Linked DNA regions of Homo sapiens: all the other regions are linked to region 1. The links are contacts of gene promoters, found by promoter capture Hi-C in blood cells and fetal thymus (Javierre and others, 2016). All regions are on one chromosome and are shown on one strand. Each heading gives the region's core, a stretch centred on a gene start or on the middle of the fragment in contact. The rest is flanking DNA. Distances are from core to core; before and after follow the strand shown.

Evidence for each region. The method cuts DNA at HindIII sites, captures the fragments that hold promoters and counts their contacts. A CHiCAGO score of 5 or more calls a contact.
Region 2: a contact is called between the fragment with the promoter of ZNF772 here and the fragment with the promoter of ZNF544 in region 1, in 4 of 17 cell types (non-activated CD4 T cells, fetal thymus, total CD8 T cells and 1 more). The highest score is 7.6, in non-activated CD4 T cells.
Region 3: the fragment with the promoter of ZNF416 here is called in contact with the fragment with the promoter of ZNF544 in region 1 in 4 of 17 cell types (activated CD4 T cells, non-activated CD4 T cells, erythroblasts and 1 more); the score reaches 6.5 in activated CD4 T cells.
Region 4: the fragment with the promoter of AURKC here is called in contact with the fragment with the promoter of ZNF544 in region 1 in 1 of 17 cell types (activated CD4 T cells); the score reaches 5.8 in activated CD4 T cells.
Region 5: the fragment with the promoter of ZNF154 here is called in contact with the fragment with the promoter of ZNF544 in region 1 in 1 of 17 cell types (neutrophils); the score reaches 5.9 in neutrophils.

Annotation. Positions count from the first base shown.
Region 1 is chr19:58,227,532-58,230,231 of GRCh38, reverse strand. It overlaps ZNF544 (zinc finger protein 544), which reads right to left and starts at 1,318. Exons shown (of 7, transcript NM_014480.4): 1 at 1,286-1,318; 2 at 662-764. RefSeq lists an enhancer at 616-1,442. The HindIII fragment of the contact is 1,767 bases long and covers 654-2,420 here.
Region 2 is chr19:57,476,230-57,478,929 of GRCh38, reverse strand. ZNF772 (zinc finger protein 772) reads left to right here and starts at 1,364. Exons shown (of 4, transcript NM_001144068.2): 1 at 1,364-1,653; 2 at 2,258-2,296. The coding sequence starts at 1,621. RefSeq lists enhancers at 850-2,049, 1,640-2,163. The HindIII fragment of the contact is 1,804 bases long and covers 1-1,709 here.
Region 3 is chr19:57,577,648-57,580,465 of GRCh38, reverse strand. It overlaps ZNF416 (zinc finger protein 416), which reads left to right and starts at 1,555. Exons shown (of 4, transcript NM_017879.3): 1 at 1,555-1,794; 2 at 2,368-2,409. The coding sequence starts at 1,762. RefSeq lists a silencer at 1,646-1,865. The HindIII fragment of the contact is 6,514 bases long and covers 1,232-2,818 here.
Region 4 is chr19:57,229,622-57,232,321 of GRCh38, reverse strand. It overlaps AURKC (aurora kinase C), which reads right to left and starts at 1,299. Exons shown (of 7, transcript NM_001015878.2): 1 at 1,016-1,299; 2 at 535-580; 3 at 98-289. The coding sequence starts at 1,073. The HindIII fragment of the contact is 17,293 bases long and covers 1-2,700 here.
Region 5 is chr19:57,707,803-57,710,502 of GRCh38, reverse strand. ZNF154 (zinc finger protein 154) reads left to right here and starts at 1,299. Exons shown (of 3, transcript NM_001085384.3): 1 at 1,299-1,564. The coding sequence starts at 1,532. RefSeq lists enhancers at 1,119-1,178, 1,199-1,328, 1,072-1,711. The HindIII fragment of the contact is 9,236 bases long and covers 1-2,700 here.

The sequences.
Region 1 (2,700 bases), core at 69-2,568:
CTGTATGGTGGCTGATCTGGCAGAAGTCCCTCTGGCTGCAGGGCTGGGGAGGGAGTTGCTTTCTCTTTCCTTTTCCAGTTTTCTCCTTCCCTGCTTGTGGGGTGACGTTTCCAATCTGCTCCAGGTTACGTGTCCAGCCCAAACCTCCTGGGCTTCCTGCCACTGCCATTCCCTCCTCCACATTCAGCCATGTCACCCACATGCTCCTCAACTCCCATGCAGAGACTGACCAGGCATACCACATCTTCCTTGCACTGTGACTTCTACCCTGGCTCCACGCTGGAAACAGAAACACAGTCTTCCTCCACTCCTTCCTGTCTTTTGGCATCCCTCCTTACACGGAGTCATTTCCACAATCAGATGTTTCCCTACTCCCTTAGACTCTTGAAATCCAACCCCATGCCTTCCTCATTAGCACTGCCTTGTACGGTCCCCATCAAATATCACCCAACACAAATGGAACCCCGATCCCTAACTTACAGGCGTTACATACACATCCCATCCTGTTCACCTCTGTAGTCTCTCTATGGGGTGCACCAGCATCGCTTAACCAGTGCAGGCCCCCAACACCCCAGTTACCCCTGCCCTGCGTGGACTGGCCTTAATCTTCTGTTCACTTGGAAAATACACATGTTCTCTGCAAGGTTCAAGCTTCACGTACCATTGGAAGAAAATGTGTCCACGTCTGGAGCTGGGATGACCTCTGGGGTCCAATAGGCGTCACCTGCCTGGTGCCGCTGTGCCAGGAGGCTCTTGGCTGCCACCTGTGGATAAGCCGCAGAAGATGAGTTGAGGGAGGAAAAAGGAGCCGGGAGAGGCCCGCTGGGTCGGCAGCCCCAGAGCTCCAGACGCCAGCCTGAATCCCCCGCCCCTGCAGCCCTCGACCCAGGCACCCTCTGTCGGGAGGGCCCACCCAGTCCCACCCAGTCCCACCCAGTCCCACCCAGTCCCACCCAGTTCCACCCCTGCCCGTACCTGCGAGGTACTATAAGTTCCCTCCCAGCTCTGCAGCAGGAGAGCCTCCCGACAAGCTCAGACCCAGCCGGGCGCTCCTGCAGGGGAAACCTGACTGGACCGGCCTTCCCCGTCCCTGAGGCCGGAGAGATCCCGATCCCATCAGGCCCCTGCCCTTGCTCGGCCTCGCCGCATGAGGGACCCCCGCAGGCCCTGCTCGTTTCTCCGGCACGCCCAGATCACTTGGGGCGGCTCTGGCCTGGTCCTGCGCTCCGGCCGCACCCGGCTAACAGTGAAACCTCCGAGCCAACCTTGAGGCCGCCAGACTCACCTGCACGCACCGGCCAATGGCGGTGCTTCCGGTGGCCGGCGGACGTGCCCGCGCTCCGCGCAACAAACAACTCCCAGAAGGCCGCGCGCCGGTAGCCGTTGCTCCCACAGGCATAGTCATTGCCGGCGGGAGCATGGGGCCCCGCGGCGGCGGGATGAGCTTTTTCCTGTGTTCGCGACTAGCATTGTGGCTTAGGGAGTTGCTTCCCGCGGCTCTGCTCCTTGCAGCGCCTGTCCCCTCCCCCTTAAACGGGCCACGCTGGTTCTCATCCAGCAACCGAAGCCGAGACTGTGGAGGCGGCGGTCGGCGTCCAGGGCGGGACTAGCGCCTATGGGGCTCGGCGCTGTCATCTCGGGTGCCTTCCCGGCGCCTTGCCCTGCTGGGGAGAGAGACCAAGACTGAGCCATGAGAACAGTCCAAGGCCGTTAACCGGGAGCTCAGGGGCAAGGGCGCCCGCCAACATCTGCGCCTGTGGCAGGGACTCAGGGACAGCCTGGGCGTGGGGACGCGTCCTAGTGATAGAAACAAAGCCCCGGGAGTGCCCTGCTTGGAGCATTCCGAGTGGAAGGTGGAAGCACGCTAACTGGAGGCGATTCGTCCTAGGTGATCGCTCAGTCGAGCCTATTTGGCTTTCTGTGGTAGCTCCTAAGTGGGACAGGGAAAAAAATAGGGAGGCTGGCAGTGACCAAGTTCTGTTTTGTACCTATTGCTGCAGAAGTTGTGGGACAGAGTTCTGTTATTATAAATGGTCTGATGTTCAGTCTCAGTGCGTTGTGGGGCTCAATGTCTGAGACCCACCACCGCCTGACCCGTCCTGGCTCTTCAATGAGGGAGACCACAGGAAACTTTCCTACGAAGGCCAGGTAGGCGGGAACCACTGTGGCTCAGGCACCCTCAGCTCCTGGACTGTGCTTTTGTGTCTGGGGTGCATCTGTGACTAGCCTTCCTTGGCTTGACTGTTTTGTAGCTGACCTTGTCGATAGCTTTACCCAACAGTCATCATCTTTTTACTTGCTTATTTTCATACCTGGCTAGCACGACCCTGCAATTTTTAGATTCTTCCGGGAAATCTAGAATCTAACTCCCTAAGGGAGGATCTTGATGGATTCTAAGCTAATCAGAATGGACTCAAGCTTCTTGCTGTGTGAATTAGGCAAGGATATTCTGGCCAAGGAGAAATAAGGCTGCTAGGGGTTTCCTGGGAAGGTTCCCTCAGTCTTTTTTTTTTTTTTTTTTTTTTTTTTTTTTTGTGAGACGGAGTCTCGCTCTGTCCACCAGGCTGGAGTGCAGTGGTACGATCTAGGCCCACGGCACTCTCCGCCTTCCGGGTTCACGCCTTTCTCCTGCCTCAGCCTCCCGAGTAGCTGGGACTACAGGCGCCCGCCACCACGCCCGGCTAATTTTTTGTAATTTTT
Region 2 (2,700 bases), core at 115-2,614, 750 kb after region 1:
CATCTTTGAAGAATCTCTGTTATTTAGGTTGACAGTTTAAATATATCCTACATTGTGCTTTTCTTTGCCTCACTTCTTCCACTTATTTTACTATTATTTTACCTTTCTATTGATTATTTATTTATATTCCAAACATTTCCTCTTCTAGTTTGAAAAGTATATACGCTGACTGTATTTATTATATTTAGGCTAAAAATTACAAACGTTTAACACATTAGCGTGCCATACAGGATTGTAATACATTTGCTTTCCACTTGGAAATATAAAAAATTTAAAACTTTGAGCAACTAGCCTCCTTTCAATTTATATGTAGTTGAGGTTACGCACGGGAATTCCATCATTCTAACTCAATAAGTATATCTACTTATGTTTTACACTGTAATATGCTGTTATTTTAATCAAAAGATGCACTTCTTTTCATCTTCATTTCTTCTCTCATTGCAGACTTTTCACCTGAGATCAACTTTCTTTGGCCTTGAGTATTATTTTAAACATTATTTTTTGTGTAAATGTATTTCCATTACATTTATCATTTTTGGTTTCAAATAGTTTTATATCACACTTCCATAAAAGACATTTTGTTGTGTATAGACATCTAGTTTGGTGGTTATTTCTTCTTTACAGAAAGTGTTCATGTTGCCCTTTTCATTGCCATATGACATTTGATGAATTCTGTCTTTTCAGACACTTGTAAAACACTTAAAATATTGAATACATCTCTGTATATGGAGTATGAAATACTATCTTGAACAAGAGTATTACTTGTTGGGTTTGACACAATCACTGCTGTATAAGCAGGATAAATATTTTCTGAGGTAACAGACAGAAGGGTTATTCACTTACTTCAAGGCCACCAAACATCCCCACTCCACGTTCCACATCATGGTGTCTGGAGTCTTTTCTTTCTTGTGCCTGACAGAAAATGCTGAGGCTCGCCAAACTAACTCTGGAGCATCAGGCTACACGCATTTGAAAACAATATTTGTTAACTTCCAGCCATAGAAATCTGAGTGACGTCAGTGTATGGTGTGTCCATTTTATTTTTTGATGAGCATTCTCTGCGTAAGGAAGGCTGAAATCATGTCTCTAAACATTCCTTTGATGTCAAACACGACGTTCACCAGAAATACAGATATGGCTCCTTCAAGAGGAAGCTAAGCTCCGTCTGGGCCTTGGAGACGAGGGACACCATTTCCACGCGCCCCTGGCGGTCTTCTCTGGGCTTTTAACCTGGAGGTGAAGCGAGACGCCGCTTACTAGTGTTGGTGCCGTGGGAACTACATTACCCAGGAAACTTGGCGGCTCTGGGCCAATGAAAACCCAGGAAATAGGCGTTTCCGTTGGTCCTCACCAACGTCAGGGCGGGACTTCCTCTACCATCCTCGGGTGGACATTTTGTTTGCTTTTCCATTAATCCACTGGTTTAGTTTCCAGAACGCAATGTCAGACCTGAGGTGACAGAAAAGGGAAAACGTGAGAGAGTGTCTTCTTCCCTGAAGAGAGGTGGGCCTGAGGCTTGACAGTGGCGCTGCCTGAGTGACCTAGCCGCTGGGCTGGGCCCTGGACAGCTGATCCCAGGTTCCTGCACTTGTCGCCACCCTTCCGTAGTCCACAGGCCTGATGGCGGCGGCTGAGCCGATGGGCCCGGCACAGGTGGGTGCTGCGTCTGCGAGTCTGCGCGCTGACCCCCATCTCTGAATCCCAAAGCTTCGAATGAACGATTCCTCGGGTTACTGCAGCTCAGGCCCCTGTATCTAGAACAGTGGGGGCGCTCGTGTTTGGGACCCATTTTGACAGCACGAGTTGAAGGACGTTCCAGGCAGAGAGACCAGTGTATGCAAAGGCTCAGAGATGGTTCACAGCTGGAGCATTTGGGAAAACTGGGCCTTTAGTGTCTGAAAGGATCAGAGCGCTTTATAAGTGATTGCACCTGGAATATCATCCTGAGCAGCTGGGTCTCTATTCTGAGGGTGATGGGAGCCATGGAAGGTTCTGAACAGAGGAGAGCCAGAATCCGAGGGTTTAAAAAGTATTCCATAGACTGCTCATGGAGGGCAGACTCTTGTTGGCCATGGGGGCGGATAATGAGCACTGTTCCGAGCTAACACAGTTAAGAGGTATCCTTGAAGATGGAAGCACAGAGGGTAGACATTCAGCTCCCAGGCACATTGTAACTGGGTAGGAATATGGGATGGGGTTGAGCCTTTGGGGTTCCTTCAAGATTGCTTGACTCGCATAGTCTCCCTCTTCCCCACAGGTTCCCATGAACTCAGAAGTAATTGTGGACCCTATACAGGTGAGGGGAGAATGTCCATGCTCTCACCGATCCCACCCCCACCCAATACGCTCTCCAGCATTGTGGTGTTATATAGAACACTCTCCTGCTACTCTCCGATCTCTTGGGTCTGAGGACTCTGGAGAAGCCCCAAGCCCAGGGTCCTGACTCCGGGCCAGGGGTTTTATGGAGGGGTTTCCATTTCTGCCAACCATTGGAATAAGGTTGGAAGGTTGTTCCAGGCACAGGAACCAGCCTGTGCAAAATACTTAGAGGTGAGACTGAGAAGGGAGTTTTCAAGAAATTGCAGGTCTCTGTCATGTCTGGTGGGAACCAAGAGCAAGGGGGCGGGAATCATCCTGAAATGGCTTAAAGATGATTATGTAGATTGGGAGTTAAAAGAGAATATTCATTTCACAGTGGTA
Region 3 (2,818 bases), core at 306-2,805, 650 kb after region 1:
GGGAACCTCCAAACTGTTCCCCATAGTGGCTTTACTAATTTACACTCCCACCAACAGCGTATGAAGTTTCCCTTTCCTCTCTGTCCTGGCCAGCATTCATTATTCCCTGTCTTTTGCATAAAAGTCATTTTAACTAGAGTGAGATGATATCTCATTGTAGTTTTGATTTGCATTTTTATAGTGATCAATGATGTTAAGCATGTTTTCATCTACCTGCTTGCCATTTATCTGTCTTTTAAAATTTTTAGTTTTATGAGTACATAGTATGTATGTATATTTATGGGATACGTGAGATATTGTGATACAGGCATACAATGTGTAATAATCATATCAGGGTACACAAGCATTTATCATTTCTTTGTGTTACAAACATTCTAGTTATAATACTCTTTTAGTTGTTTTTAATGTACAATAAATTACTGTTGACTGTAGTCTCTCTACTGTGCTATCAAATACTAGATCTTATTCATTCTACCCTGTCTTAAGGAGGCCTTGGTAGCCATGCTGAGGTTATGGGGTGCTGCTTCCAAAACCAAAAGTATTATGGGCAGCTGGTATGAAGGATCATAGGCTTATGGTCTGTGAGATCCTGTATGTTTAAGAAAGCCCAGTCTTATTGCCAGTAATTACTGTTTTAATGGTGTATAGCATGAGGCTGAAAGAGACAGTTTCCTGCATTGGAAGCTTTTACTCAACAAATGGCCGTTGTATGTGGTTCAGAGATTCCAAGAGGCATGAGAAGTGTAAACCAAAAATAAAATTCCCAGCCCCCCAACCATCTGAATGCATCCTTCCTCTTGGCCAAGGGCATTCCAAAGTTAATCTGAAAAACTAGTTCAGGACGTGATGGGAAGTGAGGGTCAGACTTGCCCTCCTCCCCTTGGAATTCAGGCACAACTGACCAGCATTAACATTAAAACAGAGATTTTAAGACTTCTTGTAGCAATAAGACAGTGAATTCCAGCCTGATTGTAGTATAGCATTACATGACAGATAGCAGGCCCTGAAAGGAATTGAAGTATTTTACTCTAAACTTTATTTATTTGACATATTTTGAAGAGGCCCTGCAAAGGTGTGTCTTGTGGAATCTGCATTTTGCTGAGAATCCCCTTTCCTCTCCAGGGTTTTTTTATTTTCATGGTCCAGGAAAGAATTAAGAGTCTGGCACCTTTCAAAGTCTGATAGGAAACATTTACAATCTATTCCCTCTGAAGCCTGCTGCGTGAAAGCTTCATCTGCTTAATAAGAACCTTGGTCTCTACAACCTCTTATCTTAACCCAGACACTCCCTTCAGTGGGTATGGGACTGCGGAAATCGGCCAGCGGCCCCTTTAAGGAGCAGCAAGTCCCTGTCTCGCTCTTGGTGTCGCGCCTTTTCCTAGCGCCCTCCGCGGGCCGCTTAGCCCTTGTTCCGGGTGAATCTCAGGGAGGGCACCGGAACCCTGGGCTTCTGAGAACTACATTACCCATAATGCCGAGCGCCAAGCTGCAAAGACGCGGAGCCAATCAACGTTCAGGAACGGACCTGTCTCCGTTTGTTGCATACGGTAAGGCGGGACTTCCGGCACCGCTCCGAGATGGTAATTTTGGTGGTTCTCTACCTCGGCCCACGCCGCCTGAGTTAGAAACGCTGCCTCCGGCACAGAGCGGGGGTCGCCCCGCTGCGCATCAGCCGGTGGGTCGCTGGCGCTGGTGGCAGCCGTGCCTGGGTTCCCGCCCCGGGTCGCCCGCCGCTCCCGGCCCCGCTCCGCTCACAATCCGATGGCGGCGGCCGTGCTTAGGGATTCGACTTCGGTGAGTGCTGCGTCTCCCGGGCCTCACCTGCCCTCTCCGCCGGAAATCCAACACCCTGCATGAGGGGCGCCTGCTTGCGTCCCTGCAGCCCGACCCTAGAGTCCAGGACTATGAGGCCCTCGCGGGTGGGGCTCCCATTTACAAGCCTGGTGTCGTGGGCTGTGGAGGGTGTGGCAGGCGGAGGGGCCGGTTTCTGTGAATCTTGCTGGGACGATTGAGCCAGTAACGTTCACGCCCGAATGGTAAAATGAGGCTCTTTCTTTTCAAGACGCTGAGAGCCATGGGTGGTTGTGAACAGACGAGGCACATGGTCTGAGTTAGACTTTTCAAATTTTTTCTAAAGTTACTCAGAGTTGGAACAGCCTGGAAGGGGGATAACACCGAGGCACAGGGAAGTTGAGTCCTTGTGCAAGGTCCCACAGCAGGTAAGAGTCACACGGAACTGAGGAGCAATAATAATTTAGTCATCACCAAGTCACCTGGCTCCAGGGCTGCGCAGGGAAACAAGGAGGCATCAGCCCATGGAGCTTCCACCATAGTTACCTGCCTCTCATAGCCTTCCTCTTCCCGCAGGTTCCCGTGACTGCAGAAGCTAAACTTATGGGCTTTACACAGGTGAGTGGAGAGTGTTTCGGGCCCTCACTGATGCTGACCCCAGTGTTTGTCTCTGAGATTGTGTTCTGGGACTCTTCTCTTGGCACTCTTTGGGTCCTTGGTTCTAGGAATCCTGAACAAACATCAGTCCCAGGGTCATACATCCAGGCTGGAAGCTGGTATAGAATGGTTCCTATTGCTGGGAACCAGTAAAGTAAGGTGTGGAACGTTGTCTCAGGCTTAGATACCAGATGAGCAAGTGCTTGAAGGTCAGGCTGAGCTGGTTTAGGAAACTACAGCTGTTTTCTTTCTCATGGGAACTGAAAGCTGGGATGCAGGAATCAGACAAAAAATGGCTGTCAGTTGTCGGGTGTTTCTTCTGGAGTGTGTGATGAGCAATGACAGTTTGGGGGCAGAGGAGGTATGTGAT
Region 4 (2,700 bases), core at 50-2,549, 1.0 Mb after region 1:
TCAAGGTACAAGTGCAGGGTTTACTTGGGGTTAGTATTTGGGGAAAATGCTGGGCTCAGACGTCAAAGATGAAAGAGGAAGCAGAGACTGTCCTTACTGTAGATGAGCCTGGATCTCAATTTCCCGGCGCAGCTGGTGCTCCAGTCCTTCCTTCTCTATCTGCGACTTGAAGAGAACCTTCAGGGCCACAATGAAATGGCTTTCCTTGAGCCGAGCCAGGTACACATTCCCAAATTTCCCCTTGCCCAGGGGACGCCCGATTTCAAAGTCATCGACTGTGAGGCGCCGCCTGACAGGAGAGGAAGAAAAAAGCCTCAGCTTGGGAGGTAGGGTAGGCGGAGGGAAAGTCAGGGATGCCAATGCTCCCCTTCCTCTTTCATTGTATCCTTCCTCTGCCGCTTTCCCTTCTCACACAGACCCAGCCCTATCAGTAGTTCTCGTTCCCAGGAGCCAGCACCCCACACACCCAGTCTGTTCTTCATCCCCACGTCCCACCTTCCTTCCTTTTCCAGATACCAATCCCAAGGGACTCACATGGCTGGGCTGCTGGGCTGCTGGGCTGTTTGGTTTGCTGTAGCCACTGAAAGAGAGGAGGAGGAGGGAGATAGGAAGGGAGAGGGGAGGGAAGGAGAAGGGGAGAGAAAGAGAGGAGAGGAGAACAGTAGAGAAGGGAATAGGGAGCGAGAGGTGAGGGGAAGAAGGGGAGGAGAGAAAGAGAGGGAAGGGGAAGGCAGGGAGAGGGGGAGGGAGAGGTAAGGGGAAGAAGAAAGAGTAAGGTAAGGTAGGGAGGGGAGGAGGAGGTGAAGAAGAGGCAGAGAGAAAGGAAGGGGAGGAGAGAGTAGGGGAGGGAGAGGTGAAAGAAAGAATTGGAGGGAAGGGAGGGAGTGGGGAGAAAAGAAGAGCGTTGGGGAGGAGGAGAGGGAGGGGAGATGTCAACACATGTGTCTTCTGTGCACCCGACCCCTGGCCCAGTCCCCAGCCTTCCCTGCGTCCTTTCTCTGGCGCTGGCTCTCACACTCTTCGCCTGCAGGTTGAGCTTTGCCCAGCTGCACCACAGCTCTGGGGGAGCTCATGGGGAGAAGAGGTGAGGGCGCGGACGCCTTCCTGAACCCTCTGGATGGCTGTTCCCGTTCACAGGGTCCTGAAAGGGGTGGGGGGTCACTTTCTGGCCGGGGCGCTTCCAATCCTGCTCGTCCTGCAGCCTCACTGATGTCTCACTGCTACACAGGCTTCGGGATCCGCGGCGTCGTGAGCAGCCGTGGCTGCGCGGCCTTCTTTTATACCCGGCACCAACCGCTCAGAGAGGTACTTCCTGGCTGGCTCCTATTGGCTGAAATTCCTGACGCCATCGGAAGTGCGCCCAATAGAAAGGACAGAAACGGGAGCCTCAGTCCAGGGTTCCCGGGTTGGGGCGGAACTGGAGTGCTGCGGTCCGGGCTGGGCACTGAAAGCGAGGGCCAGGGGTGAGGCCCGAGAAGGAAGGAGACAGAGGGTGCGGAGAGGTGGTGATGGCCGTTGTGGGAATGAACAACGCATACACCCACGGGGTGTGCATGCGTCAACTAGGAGAGAGCCGCGATGCACGTGGGAATGAACAGACGCCCACTCCTGACGTGCTGGAGCCTCGTGCAGCCCGTGACCCTAAACCACTTCGCGCCTTGTGCAGCCGGCGACCCCAAAACCACCTTGCTTCAAGGTCACGTCCGATTCAGGCCACTCTCCAGGGTCACCGCGATGGGGCTCCCTGAAGCCTGCGGCTGTGCCTGCTCACAGCCAGGACGCCACCAGTCCAGCTCACTTACCCCTCTCCTCCCACTCGCCAAATATTTGTTGGACCCTGTAATCAGTTTGTGGATTTGGCCTCAGATCGTAAAATCAGCCCCCACGTATTTGTTTAGCAAACACATAAGTTTCAAAAACATTAAAAATTGAATTCTTTTAGACAGGGAACATATCTTGCAGAAATATAATTGAAGGCCTGGCGTGATGGCTCATGCCTGTAATCCCAGCACTTTGGGAGGCCGAGGCGGGCGGATCACCTGAGGTAGGCAGTTCGAGACCAGCCTGGCCAACAGGGCGAAACCCCGTTTCTACTACAAAAATTAGCCGGGTGTGGTGGCGCATGCCTGTAATCCCACCTACTCAAAAGGCTGAGGCAAGAGAATCGCTTGAACCCTGGAGGCGGAGGTTGCAGTGAGCCAAGATCATGCCACTGCACTCCAGCCTGGGCGACAGAAGGAGAACGAGACTCTGTCTCAAAAAAAACAAAAACAAAAACAAAAAAACCCAAAAACAAAAAAGCTCGTCTCAAAATATTTGGGGAGACCTATTTGAGTAATAAAACTCTGGTCTCTCATTTAGCTCGATTGATGTGAATTAAACCCTTTATTGCAATTATCCTGTCTTGATAAGTCGACTCTATCTGGGGAGCAGGGAAAATAATGAACCCATTAGGTGGTTACAATAGGTGGATCAGGGTAATGGCGCTTAGCTCAGGCCAACCATTCCTTTCTCAGAGGCTTTCCCAAACCTGTCTGTTTGTTTGTTTATTGAGACGGAGTCTTGCTCTGTCACCCAGGCTGGAGTGCAGTGGCTCGAACTCAGCTCATGCAACCTCCGCCTCCTAGGTTCAAACATTTCTCCTGCCTCAGCCTCCTGAGTAGCTGGGATTACAGGCACCTGCCACCATGCCCGGCTAAT
Region 5 (2,700 bases), core at 50-2,549, 520 kb after region 1:
GTCTCCATCCATCCAGGCACTCTAGTAACCTGCTTCTTCTGCCTGGAATTTATTCTAAAAATACCCACATGGCTCATTTCTCACTTCCTTCAAGTGCATTTCACCGGCTTTCTGATTAAGAAGTCCCACCTCTCCCCTTTGTCTCTTATCAAAGTAGCATTTCTTTCATTGTTTTTTGAGATTGATGTTAGACTTCTAGAAGGAATATATCTCAGATATCAAGTAAGAATTATGAAATGGATAAAAGCGTTGCTCAGTGAATTGGACACAGTTATTGACTGGACACAGTAATTGGACACAATAATTGACTATGCAGGCAAAAGATGTTTTCTGTTGGAATCAGACAGAATTCTACCTTTGTACTACTGTTTCAAGGTGATCTAACATTTCTCTTCTATCTTCTAGAAGCACTATCATGCCACTATCTGAAGTAGTTTTTCACCTGTCCCTGACCAAAAGTGCACAGACTGACTTCAATGCTTCGGAGTGCATACATTTGAAATGTAATATGATAGAGGCTGGGTACGGTGGCTTACGCCTGTAATCCCAGCACTTTGAGAGGCCGAGGCGGGCAGATCACCTGGGGCCAGGAATTTGGGACCACCATAGTGAAACCCTGTCTCTACTGAAAATACAAAAAATTAGCCTGGCGTGGTGGCGCGCGCCTATAGTCCCAGCTACTTGGAAGGTTGAGGCACGAGAATCGATTAACCCGGGAGGCGGAGGTTGCAGTGATCCCAGATGGCGCCGCTGCACTCCAGCCTGGGGGACAGAGGGAAACTTTGTCTTAAAAAAAAAAAAAAAGGAATAAACTTATATGGTAATGTTTATTAGCTTCCCTACTAGTGGATATATTTCGTGTCTGAATGGCTCTATGGAATGATGTACATATTTGGATTGGCAGCCTTAGGGAGCGTCTGATAATAATTTTAGCCTCTGGGAGCCTGCTGAACTTTATGAAGTTTGAAATAATATTCCCCAAACACTTGGGTGATCAGTTGCAGATGGCACCTCTAATATGCTGTCTGATTACGACCCATTTAAGAAAGGGCGAAGTCCCTCCACTGCCCTAGGACTTGGATAAGCCATTTCTCATCGCCCAGCGCCCTGGAGCTTCGCTTTTACTCCAAGAGGTTGGTGCAAAGGGTCCCCGGCACCCACCTCGGGATCTATGAAAACTACATTACCTAGAATGCTCTGCGTTGAACGCCACGCTACTAAGCCAGTAAGAGCTCAGAAAACCGACTTTCCTTGAGAGTCACAAAAAGAAAGGACGGGACTTTTGGGGGGGCCTCTTCGTGGCGGCCATTTTAGCTTCTCTGAGGTGTGTTCACCGGATCAGAGATAGCAGAGCGCCGAGTTGGGGCCACGAAGGCGTGAGGGGAGTCGTCGTCCCTCCTGCACGAAAGCGTCTAAGCCTTGGCGACGCCGCCCTGGGGGACCCACGTCAGGCCTGGGATAGGGACCGCTGTCCCCGGGTCCCTACCAATGTCGCCCGTCGCTCCCGGCCCAGCTCTACCCGCAGAGTCTGATGGCAGCGGCCACTCTGAGGACGCCAACTCAGGTGAGTGCGGCGTCTTCCCGTCCTCACACACCTTCCCCCACCCACGTTCTAAAGCCATCAGTGAGGGGCGCCTGCTCGAGTCCCCGCTGCCCAGGGTCGGGGACACTGAGGCGTTCGTGGGTGGGGCCCTTTTTTTGACACTGCGTGTGACGAGGTGTGGGAGAGCGTGACAGGCGGAGGAACCGGCGCGTGCAAAGGTTGAGGCGCGACTGAGCCAGGAGAATTCGGAAAGCTGTTTTCTGCAGGGAACGAAGAATATGAGGCGGAGTTACTCCTAGGGTTGTACTGTCATTGTGAGGATGCTAGAAGCCACGGAGAGTTCTGAACAAAGGAGGGACGCCATTTATGTTAGTTTTTTTTTCTTTGAGACGGAGTTTCGCTCTTATCGCCCAGGCTGGAGTGCAATGACGCGATCTCGGGTCACTGCAACCTCCGACTCCCGGGTTCAAGCGATTCTCCTGCCTCAGCCTCCCCAGCAGCTGGGATTACAAGCCTGCAGCTGGGATTACAACGTCCGGCTAATTTTTTGTATTTTTAGTAGAGACGGGATTTCACCATTTTGGCCAGACTGGTCTGGAACTCCTGACAAGTGATCCTCCTGCCTCGGCCTCCCAAAGTGCTGGGATTACAGGCGTGAGCCACCGTGCCCGCCCTATGTTAGGGTTTAAAAACTTTTCCAAAGACTGTTCACAGGAAGAGCAGCGATGGGGCGATGAGGACATTGAGATAGTGGGAGGCTACATCTTTTTTTCATTGCCCTACAGTTGGCAAGAGGTGACAGCACTGAGACCAGAAAGTAAAACAGCCAGCCTGAGTTCAGGGCCAGGCAGGGCTACAGGGAGGCTTGAGCTCATCTAGCCTCACCAGGGATGCATTCCTCTTTCCCTGGTTCTCCCAGTTGTAGAAGGGCGTATGGAACTCACATAGGGAAGTGGAGAGTGTTCGGTCCCTCAGTAGCCTCTACCCCCATGTTCTTGGGATTGTGGTTTCCTAGTATTCTTAAGTGCTGTTACCCCAATCCTGGGTCTGGTGCCCTGGAGAAATTCCAAGCCCAGGGCTCTTAAGTCCATGCCAGAGGTTACAGGGGTTATACTGAGGTGTTCCCATTTTTGTCAGCCAGTGGAAACTTGTGAAAG